3 separate regions of the Homo sapiens genome follow, and all the other regions are linked to region 2. Evidence: promoter capture Hi-C in 16 types of primary human blood cells and fetal thymus (Javierre and others, 2016). All regions are on one chromosome and are shown on one strand. Each heading gives the region's core, a stretch centred on a gene start or on the middle of the fragment in contact. The rest is flanking DNA. Distances are from core to core; before and after follow the strand shown. Region 1 holds the start of DUS1L (dihydrouridine synthase 1 like). Region 2 holds the start of FOXK2 (forkhead box K2). Region 3 holds the start of CCDC57 (coiled-coil domain containing 57).

Evidence for each region. The method cuts DNA at HindIII sites, captures the fragments that hold promoters and counts their contacts. A CHiCAGO score of 5 or more calls a contact.
Region 1: the fragment with the promoter of DUS1L here is called in contact with the fragment with the promoter of FOXK2 in region 2 in 1 of 17 cell types (neutrophils); the score reaches 5.4 in neutrophils.
Region 3: a contact is called between the fragment with the promoter of CCDC57 here and the fragment with the promoter of FOXK2 in region 2, in 1 of 17 cell types (neutrophils). The highest score is 7.8, in neutrophils.

Annotation. Positions count from the first base shown.
Region 1 is chr17:82,063,796-82,067,143 of GRCh38, forward strand. It overlaps DUS1L (dihydrouridine synthase 1 like), which reads right to left and starts at 2,009. Exons shown (of 14, transcript NM_022156.5): 1 at 1,818-2,009; 2 at 1,028-1,274; 3 at 331-439. The coding sequence starts at 1,264. RefSeq lists an enhancer at 649-1,377 and silencers at 1,601-1,650, 1,941-2,010, 2,021-2,080. The HindIII fragment of the contact is 12,631 bases long and covers 1-3,348 here.
Region 2 is chr17:82,518,145-82,521,393 of GRCh38, forward strand. FOXK2 (forkhead box K2) reads left to right here and starts at 1,588. Exons shown (of 9, transcript NM_004514.4): 1 at 1,588-2,163. The coding sequence starts at 1,745. RefSeq lists silencers at 1,008-1,667, 2,118-2,297, 2,378-2,427. The HindIII fragment of the contact is 16,273 bases long and covers 1-3,249 here.
Region 3 is chr17:82,210,903-82,214,380 of GRCh38, forward strand. CCDC57 (coiled-coil domain containing 57) reads right to left here and starts at 1,940. Exons shown (of 19, transcript NM_001394669.1): 1 at 1,883-1,940. RefSeq lists a silencer at 1,481-2,400 and an enhancer at 2,351-3,293. The HindIII fragment of the contact is 36,876 bases long and covers 1-3,478 here.

The sequences.
Region 1 (3,348 bases), core at 759-3,258, 450 kb before region 2:
TAACACCTCCTCAGGGGCCCGGTGAGGTAGCAGGCTCAGCCCCACACACAGCAGTGCAAGGGGGTAATGGGGACCCTGTATCAGCAATCATGTTTATGCAGAGGGAGCTCCCTGAGGGAAGAGAGAGCCAGTAGGGCTCGGCCCCTAGCCCCCAAGGCCTGAGGACAGCCACCCTCCAGAGGCGGAGCACAGAGGACAGCTGGCTCCAGCCTGAGCCACTGTCACGACAGAGGCAGGGCCTGCCGTCCTCCAAGCTCACCACACCTGGGGCTGCACTGAGCTGGCTCTGGCCCCTGCCCCAGGTGCCCCCATGCTCCACATGGAGCTCACCTCTCTTGGCTATCATCTGTGGGCAGCCCAAGTTCAGGTCAATGGCGTCACAGTAATCCTGAGCCAGGAGAGCCGCCTGAACAAACACCTCCGGGTCATTGGCACAGAACTGGAGAAGATGCAGGAGTCAGCCACGGGCCCAGCCAGGCCCTAGTCCCTTGCTGCCCAGCCCTACGAGAGGTCCAGTGTGACCCCATGAGGGTGTGGGCCCAGGTTCACTGCAGGAGGGTGCTCTGTCCTGCGGAGGCTTACAATATGACAAAGCCGGGAGGAGTCCCCAAGCCACCCGGATTTACAGATTTTCTTCTGAACTGTGGCAGAAGCCACAATCACTGACTTCTGAAGAGCAGAGCCATCTCCACTGGTTCTGAAGAGGGAGTGTGAGTGTGAGAGGCAGCAATCCAGAGGCCCCAGCAGGGCTGCAAACCTCACAGCACCCAGGCTGCCTGAGCCACTCCTAGAGAATGGGGTTGGATTCTGGCAGGTGCACCTGGCAGCCCTGGCTCCACCACAGGAATCACTGCTGTGGCTACGTGGACTCTACATGCCTGGTGCCACCTTCTCCCTCTCCTCCTGGAATTGAGCTGTCTCTGGAAAGGCTGAAAGTGATGTCCCGCCACAGAGAGAAGGGTTTTTCCCCAGGCATTCCAGGACCGGGAACCCAACCGCGGCCGCGGCCACAGCCCCTCCTGCGCACCTGCACGATGAGGGGCCGGTCCTCGGGGCACACCTCGCAGTACAGGTTCTCCTTCCGGTAGTTGGCGTCGCGGACAAAGACCTGGGCATGCAGCATGGGCGTGTAGCAGAGCTGTGCCCCGTGGCGCCGGCTCAGCAGCCTCCAGGCCAGCTCGCTCTGGTCCACCATGGGGGCCACGACGTGGCGGGCCCCTCGCAGGGTGCGGCTCCAGAACTCGAAGCCCTGCAGCTTTGGCATCGTCTCCAGGCTGGGGGAAAGGCGCAGACCCGGGGTTCAGCCAGGCCCAACGAGGGGCTTAAGACTCAACTCAGAGGCAGCGGTCACCCTTCTAAGGCCGCTCCAGTACCACCGTTGGGTCACACGCGGGGGCACTAAAGGCGGGGGTCGGTGCAGGCTGGAGAACGGCCACTCCAGTGCCGCCACCTCCTAGCGGACCTCGGGGGAGCCGCTGGACCCCTGGGACTTGACCCTCCCTGGGGAGCGGGACTCGATGTCGGCCTGGTAGGGGACTGGCGTGAAGGGGGAAGAAACCTTGACGCCAGCGTCCCCGCGGGCCTGGCCCTGAGCAGGCCGCCCGGCGGTGAAGTTAGGACCCCCGGCCCCTTCCCGGGAGAATCGGCTCCGCGCCGGGCCAGGGGAAGGGCAGAGCTTCCTTCTCCGCACCCGGCCAGGCGGCCCGGCTGGCCCGAAACGCCACAGGGGCGCCCCTCGCGAGACTCCTCCGGAGCCACGCGGCGGGCAGCGTTTGCTGTGTGAAGTGACAGGAGCCCACACGCCTCCGCGTCCTCACCGCGCGAGGGCCCCGCCGTGTCCGCCGCGCGCCTTTGGCTCCGAGGGCGCCGGGTGCCGGTGTCCCGGGCCCGCCCCTCTCCGGCCTCGCCGCCGCCCGGGGCCCCTGCAGCTCCCGGGGCGCCGCGAACGCCCGCACCGCGCCGGGGCCGCCGCCGGGCCGCAGCCGGGCCCAAGGCTCCGCGCCGCCACCGGAAGGTGCCCGGTCCTGCGCGGTCCGGGCGGCCCACGGTGCGGCGGGAAACGCGTTCCCCGGAAACCGCGCCCGGCTCCGAGGGGACCGGCGACGAGAGGTCGCGGCGCGGGGTCGGAGGTCAGAGGCTGAGGTCACCACCGTACCCGTCAGGCCGTGGCTAGAGAGGGGTCGGGGCTCGCCGGGACTCACCGACAGCTCGCTGGAAACGAGGCATGTGGAAATTGGGCCTCGCTGAGGCGCACATAAGGCCCGGGCCGCGGGTAGACCGTGGGCGCTGAGGCCCTGCGCTGCCCAGCCCCCAAGTTCGCATTGGGGGCTTCATCCCGTTATATCCTAAAGCGGCCCCAGAGCCCTGCCTCGAACCCACTCACCTGCCGCCTCTGAAAGCCACTCACTTTCCGCCGCTGCGTTGCGGAAAATCACCCTCCAGGGACCTTCCTTGCCCGCCCTGGGTTTCCGCAGCCGCCAGCCTTCGATCGACTTTCCTACCCGCCGTGGACCCTCCTTGGGTTATTTCGAGCTGTGGGGACCCACTGGGAACCCCAGAGTGGATGTGAAGGTTATTTTAAACTGAAGGCATTTGAGACCCAACAGATGTAAAAAGCAGCTTTGTCAGAGCTTTCCATATCTGAGAGCGAAGCCCGAAGTTGAACCAGGACATTCAGTACCTAAAACATGTGAAATCTCTTGGGCCCCCGGAATCACTAAGGAAAACTCAGGCTGGAAGCTGCTCAGGGCAAACCTGCCTCCCGCTCTATTCAGAGTCACCCTCTGCTCGCTGAGATAGATGGATATCTGACTGACTCCTTTGAAAAGGCTCATCAGAAGGCTGGGCGCGGTGGCGCACATTGAGACCAGGAGTTCGAGACCAGCCTGGCCAACACGGTGAAACCCTGTCTCTACTGAAAATACAAAATTAGCCAGGTGTGGTGGTGCGCCCCTGTAGTCCCAGCTACTCGGGAGGCTGAGGCAGGAGAATCGCTTGAACCTGGGAGGCGGAGGTTGCAGTGAGCCGAGATCAAGCCATTGTACTCCAGCCTGGCGACAGAGCAAGACTGATCAAAAAGGAAAAGAAAAAAAAAAAAGGCTAATCAGAAACTCAAAACAATGTAACCGTTTGTGTATCACCTATCTGTGACCAGGAAGCTCCCTCCCCGATGGCTTTTGCTTTAAATTGTCCCGCCTTTCCAGACTGAACCAATTTTTTTTTTTGAGACGGAGTCGCTTTCTGACCCAGGCTGGAGTGCGGTGGCGTGATCTCGGCTCACTGCAACCTCCATCTCCCAGGTTCAAGCGATTCTCCTCCCTCAGCTTCCCAAATAACTGGGATTACAGG
Region 2 (3,249 bases), core at 338-2,837:
TTTTTTTTTTTTTGAGACGGAGTCTCCTCTGTCACCCAGGCTGGAGGGCAGTGGCGTGATGTCTGCTCACCACAACCTCCGCCTCCCAGGTTCGAGCGATTCTACTGCCTCAGCCTCCCAAGTAGCTGGGACTGCAGGCACGCCCCACCATGCCTGGCTAATTTTTGTATTTTTAGTAGAGACGGGCTTTTACTATGTTGGGCAGGCTGGTCTTGAACTCCTGACCTTGTGATCCACCCGCCTCGGCTTCCCAAAGCACTGGGATTACAGGTGTGAGCCACCGCGCCCGGCCACAGGATTTTTTCTTTTTAATGTTAGGAGTTTCATTGATTAGTGAACATCTGGACTATTGATCATCTTGATTTAGATGGGATCTTGTAATTTTTTAAACGGTGGCGAAATTCTTTTTTTAAAAACTTAGTATCAGATTGGTTAAGATATTAACTATTCGTTCATGAGAGTTCATATATATATAGTTCATATATATATAGTTCATATATGTATATAGTTCATATATATAGTTCATATATATATAGTTCATATATATATAGTTCATATATATATATATAGTTCACATATATATAGTTCATATATATACATATGAGACGTAGTTTCACTCTTGTTGCCCAGACTGAAGTGCAGTGACGCGATCTCGGCTTACTGCAACCTCCACCTCCCAGGTTGAAGCAATTCTCCTGCCTCCGCCTCCCAGGTTTAAGCAATTCTCCTGCCTCAGCCTCCTGAGTAGCTAGGACTACAGGTGTGCACCACCACACCCGGCTATTTTTTTTTTTTTTTTTGTATTTTTAGTAGAGCTGGGATTTCACCATGTTGGCTAGGCTGGTCTCGAACTCCTGACCTCAGGTGATCCGCTCGCCTCGGCCTCCCAAAGTGCTGGGCTTACAGGCGTGAGCCACCGCGCCCGGCCTCGTGTATATTTTTAAACTGTGTGCTGACGACAGTTAAGTAAATGTGATTCAGAACTTCTGCGTATTTTGCAGGACAGTTTTGACACAATGACATGACTCGCTAGCCAGGAAAGATAACGACATCCAGTCCTGGAGCTGCTGGTTAAAAACGAACGTGTCACCGGGTCCCCTGGGTCTGAGGCCACGCGGCACGCGGCCCCTCCGCGATATTCCCGCACCTCGCGGGGAAAAGGCCGCTCGGCGGCCGGGCCTGGGCTCGCGGGCCGCCGCCTATCCGCACCCCGGCGTCCACGCCGGGTTGGGGGCCGCTGCGTGCCTGGCGCCCGCTGTGACCTTGGGCCTGGTCCCGCCCGCCGCGCCTAAGGCGCTGCCAGGCCGGGCTCAGACCCCCGAGCTCCCGCGCCCGCGCCAACCCCGCGCCAGCCCCGATCCCGCGCGGGCTGCCGACTGTCCGCCCCGGGTTTTCCGCGGCGCCCGGAGTCGGGACTGCGTCGGGCGTCGCCGCCGGACGTGCCGGCAGCTTGGTGCGACGTGTCTTGCCATTGGCCTGCTTCGGTAGCCCCACTGCCGTACGCCGCCCCCATTGGCCGGCGTAACCGTCCGTCAGCGAGGGGCGGGCCCGGCGTGCCGGCTCGGTGGCGCGGCCGCGCGTGCTCCCGCCCCTCGCCGCCGCTCGCTCGCTCGCCGGCCGGCGGCCTCCGCTCGGCCCCCTCCCTCAGCTCCGGTGCGCGGCGGCCGACGACCCGCGCGGCCTGGGCCTCGGCCCGCGCCACCGGCGCCCGCGCGGAGCGGCCCGGGGGCCCTCACGCAGGCCCATGGCGGCGGCCGCGGCGGCGCTCTCGGGCGCGGGCACGCCACCCGCGGGCGGCGGGGCCGGGGGCGGCGGGGCCGGGGGCGGCGGGTCCCCGCCGGGCGGCTGGGCCGTGGCGCGCCTGGAGGGCCGCGAGTTCGAGTATCTGATGAAGAAGCGCTCGGTGACCATCGGCCGCAACTCGTCGCAGGGCTCGGTGGACGTGAGCATGGGCCACTCGAGCTTCATCTCCCGGCGCCACCTCGAGATCTTCACGCCCCCGGGCGGCGGCGGCCATGGCGGGGCCGCTCCGGAGCTGCCGCCCGCGCAGCCCAGGCCCGACGCCGGCGGCGACTTCTACCTGCGCTGCTTGGGCAAGAACGGGGTATTCGTGGACGGCGTGTTCCAGAGGCGCGGGGCGCCGCCGCTGCAGCTGCCGCGCGTGTGAGTGGCCTCGGGGCGGGGCGGGCGGGGTCTGCGGCCTGCAGCGCCTGGCAGGACGGGACGGGACACGCGCCCAGGCCCGGGACCACCCACGAGCGGGGGCCCGACTCTCCCACAGCCGGGACCACCAGCGGGACCCAGGCCCCGGCTGGATCCCAACCCTCGACAGCCCCTGGCCCCGACCCCCGTCCTCCCGGTCCCCTTCCTGGCAGGTGCAGCCCCCCGTCTTTCCCCCTTCCTGGAGCCGGGGCTGCGGGCGGCTGCGCGCGCGGGTCAAGGTTTCTGGGTTCTGTGCGTGCGGGGAGTTCACGTGTGCTGTTTCTATTCTGCAGCGAGGTCGCGCTGAACAGAAATGTGAAAACGGTGTGCGGTGGGAGGAACTGCCCCGAACTAAAATCTATGTCTCTTAACCGATGAAGGGTTGTCTGTTGTCTTTTGTTGTTGTTGTTGTTCAGTCGTTTTCAGTAGTGAGCTGTTTCAAGAGTGCGGTGTTTTAAGCAGGAAGGACTCCTTTTTCCCTGCCGTGTTTTCAGTAGGCCAAATTGGAAGACGCTTCAAGCATGATGGATTTTCAATCTGTGCTCTGAACCTTAAAATTTAGGGAAAACTAGATGCTTTTCGCATAACTTCTACAAAAAGACAGTTGATTAGGAATTATTACAAGGTCATGTAGAGTGTTAAGTCAGCCTGATAGGGAACTGCCTATCCTGCTACAAAACAATTTAGCTTGGTCCTGTGGTTTTATGAAGTTATCGTTTACTCTGCTTGAAACACAAACTTGCTGTCTAGGAAATGCTAATTATTCCTCAGGGGCTCACTTCTAGATCATTGCAAGTACAGCCTTTGTCCACACAAACTGGAATTTTTTTGTTTTTTGTTTTTTGAGACGGAGGCTCACTTTGTCGCTCAGGCTGGAGTGTAGTGGCGCGATCTTGGCTCACTGCAATCTCCGCCCTTTGAGTTCAAGTGGTTCTCCTGCCCCAGCCTCCCGAGTAGCTGGGATTACAGGCGCCTGCCACCGCGCCCGGCTAATTTTTTGTATTTTTAGTAGAGACGGGGTTTCACCATCTTGGCCAGGCTGGTATT
Region 3 (3,478 bases), core at 690-3,189, 310 kb before region 2:
AGAATCACTTCAACCCAGGAGGCAGAGGTTGCAGTGGGCCGAGATCGCGCCACTGAACTCCAGCCTGGGCGGCAAAGAGAGACTCCGTCTTAAAAAAAAAAAAAAAAGAAAAAAAAAAAAGAAAAAGAGAGAAAGAAAGAAACATCATCTTTTACATAGTGGCAAGATATTTCCCCACAAAATATTTATTATTTACAAAGGGAAGGACCCTAACTTTATGGACACACTTGGCAGACACCACCTCAGCCCCCAGGACGTGACTAGCACCAACAGCCAGGGGCATCCTGTGTCTCGTAAGACGCTGGGAAGGGCACAATTTCCCTGTTGAGGTTTTCTTGCCAAAAATCAGTAATATGAAATCAATTATGACAAAACATCAGAGAAATGCCCCCGAACTGGGGGGCATTTTATAAAATAGTGGACTCATCATTGGATCCTGGACCACGGTAAAGTCATCCATGAGGTAGCTGCTAAGCAAGAATAAATACTGGAGACCAGATCATGGGATGATACCAACATGAACGCCAGCGTCTACATGTTGCTGAATGAACTGTGGTTCTCTAAGAGGTCAGCATTCTAGGGGCTCTGGGCAAAAGGCACACGGGAAATCTGTGCTCCTTTTGTATCCTTTTTCTAAGTTACAGATAATTTTTTTTTTTTTTGAGACCGAGTTTCGCTCTTGTCTCCCAGACTGGAGTGCAATGGCGCGATCTTGGCTCTCCGCAACCTGCGCCTCTCGGTGTGGTACCCTACTTTGTTTTAACCTGACTGACTCTCTCTTAGCTGAGAGGGCCGGACAGACACCATTTTGGTTTCTTCGCTTGCAGCCCCTTGTCCCCGTCCCTTAAGGACATAACTGGGGCAAGCTGACTCCAAGCACATCCAGGAATGCGCTTACTGATAAAATACTGATAAGAAACTGGAGCAAGCTGTACCAGCAGCTCCTGGGAACGCGCTCGGTTGATGGTACCCAAAGCCCCTGCGTTTATCACTTTGTGATAATTTAAGCCCCTGTACCTGGAACTGTTTATTTTCCTGTAACTGTTTCTGTAACCATTTATCTTTTAACTTTTTGCCTATTCTGCTTCTGTAAAAAAATCGCTTCAGCTAGCCTCCCCTCCTCTATTTAGACCAAGGTATCAAAAGAAATCTAGCCCCTTCTTCGGGGCCGAGGGAATTTGCAGCTCTAGCAGTCTGTCAGTCGCTGGCAATACAGGACTCCTGAGTAGTCTCAGAGTGTGGCGTTCTCTCTATAACTCCCTCAGTTACAACATCGGGTTCAAGCGATTCTCCTGCTTCAGCCTCCGGAGTAGCTGGGATTACAGGCGTGCACCACCACGCCCAATAATTTTTGTATTTTTAGTAGAGAGGGGGTTTCACCATGTTGGCCAGGCTGGTCTCGAACTCCGGGCCTCAAGCAATCTGCCCGCCTCTGCCTCCCAAAGTGCTGGATTACAGGCGCGAACCACCGCCTCCGGCCTTTTTTTTTCCTCTCTTTTTTTTTTTTTTTTTTTAAACTCACAGACACTGTAAGGCTGCCTGGGCGCGGAGCCGTCCTTGCCGGCGGCGGAACCCGGGGAATTCTCCCGGGGCTGCGGGGCCCTGGTCGGCAGCGCCCACCGCCCCAGGTCACCCACGGGAGACCGAGGGAACGCTCCCGCTCCACGCGGCCGCAACCCCCGCCCCGCCCCGCCGCAGCCTCCGCGAGGGGATCCCCGGTCCGGGCCTGGCCGAGCTCTGAGGGTCGACCTCGCGCTCCAGGTCCCCACCAAAGCGCTGCGTCCGACAGGACGGCAGCTGCTGGGGTTTTCTACAGGAAGAGTGGTCGGAGCGGCGCCCCCCACGCCTCCCACGCCTCCCACGCCGCCCGCCCGCACCTCACCCTAACGCCCGCCAGCAGCGCTGGCCAGGTCCCGCCGCGTTGCCACAGCGACCGGGTCAGTCGGCCGCGTCCGGCTGCGCTCGGTGCAGCGCTCGGGTCCCGCCGACAGGAAACGGGGTCCCTGGCGCTAGGTTCCGGCCCCTCCCGCCCCGCCGGGTTCCGCGCTGCGCCCGGGTCCGAGGGGCGCCCCGGCCGACCCGACCACCGCCGCAGATCGAAGGAGGGAGCCCGGCCTCCTCACCGGTCAGCGGGGCGACTCCGGACGGGGCTCCGGGCTATGGGGACGGCGGGTTCCGCCGCGCGAGGCGCCCCCACCTTCGCCGCCCCCGGCCCGGCCGAGGGTCCCCAGGCGCCCGCTTCCTGAGGCCGCCCGGCTCGCGGTCCCGAAGGGTTGACTTGAGCTTTTGCCCTGAGATGAAGGGAGCACGGGGCGGCCGAGGCTGCCCGTGGGGGTCTGTTCGGGCCGGGGGCGCCACGAAGTCCTGCCTAAGGGTCGGCTGCGGCCACCGGGGCACGAGTTCCCGGCGCTGCCCACGGGCTCGGAGACCGGCGGGGCCCAGGGGCCGTGCGCGCGGTCGCTCAGACCCTGATTAGGGAACTGGGGGAAGGAGGGGGGTCGGGACCCACCGAGGCCCGAAGTCGCCCCCACCATCCTGTGGGAACAACATCCTCAGGCACAGCCATTCCCAACCATTCACATCCTCAGAAAAAGGCACGTGTCCGTATCCATCTGCGGATGGATGAACAGAGCCCGGCCCCGGGACAGAGCAGCCTGGCTCACCCGAACCCTCAGCCCGCAATTCTGCGTGGGAGTGGAGGGGGTGTTTGGTGTCTGGGAATTCCCCTGGTGGGGCAATAAGCCAGGGGTCTGGTGTCATCCTCCACCCACATTGTTAACACTGGATCACTCCTCTCCGTGCCGTGCCTGCAGCCCAGGCACCCTGCAGCCTGTCCTCCCCGAACCATGCGTCCTGGTAGAGCTGTCTCCCTCGCCCACAGTCCTCAGTCCCGCCTCACACACCAAACCCTCTTCTGCCTCAGGTCCTTTGCGCCAGTTGCCTCTGCCTAGACTTGGTTCCCTGGATGCCCCCTCCCCACCCCATGTGTATGTCCGGCTCCCTGGACCCACCCCCCACACTGTGTGTCTAGCCCCCTGGACCCACCCCCCACTCTGTGTCTAGTCCCCTGGACTCCCCTCCCCACCCCCTGTGTCTAGCTCCCTGGACCCCCAACCTGGCCCATGTGTCCAACTCCCAGGACCCCCCCACCCTGTGTCCAGCTCCCTGGTTTCCCCCACCACCCCATGTGTTTGGCTCCCTGTCCTGCTGCCTTCTCAGTGCTTGTGCACCCCCAGCCTCATCAGACTTGTCACTCTATTAGAACAGGATGTAGGGCCTGGACTGTTGGCTCCCTGCTACCCCCACCCACAGGACAGTGCTGGGGTTGACCCGACTTTGGCTGCACATTTGACTGGCCCCTGGATCAGCTCTAGGACTAGATGTACCCAAAAGGATGCCCACATCCTTGCCTCAGCTCCTGCCTCTGCCCACCCAGAGAGCTGCCTTGCCCCCATGTCCACGATGCAGCCACCAGGCC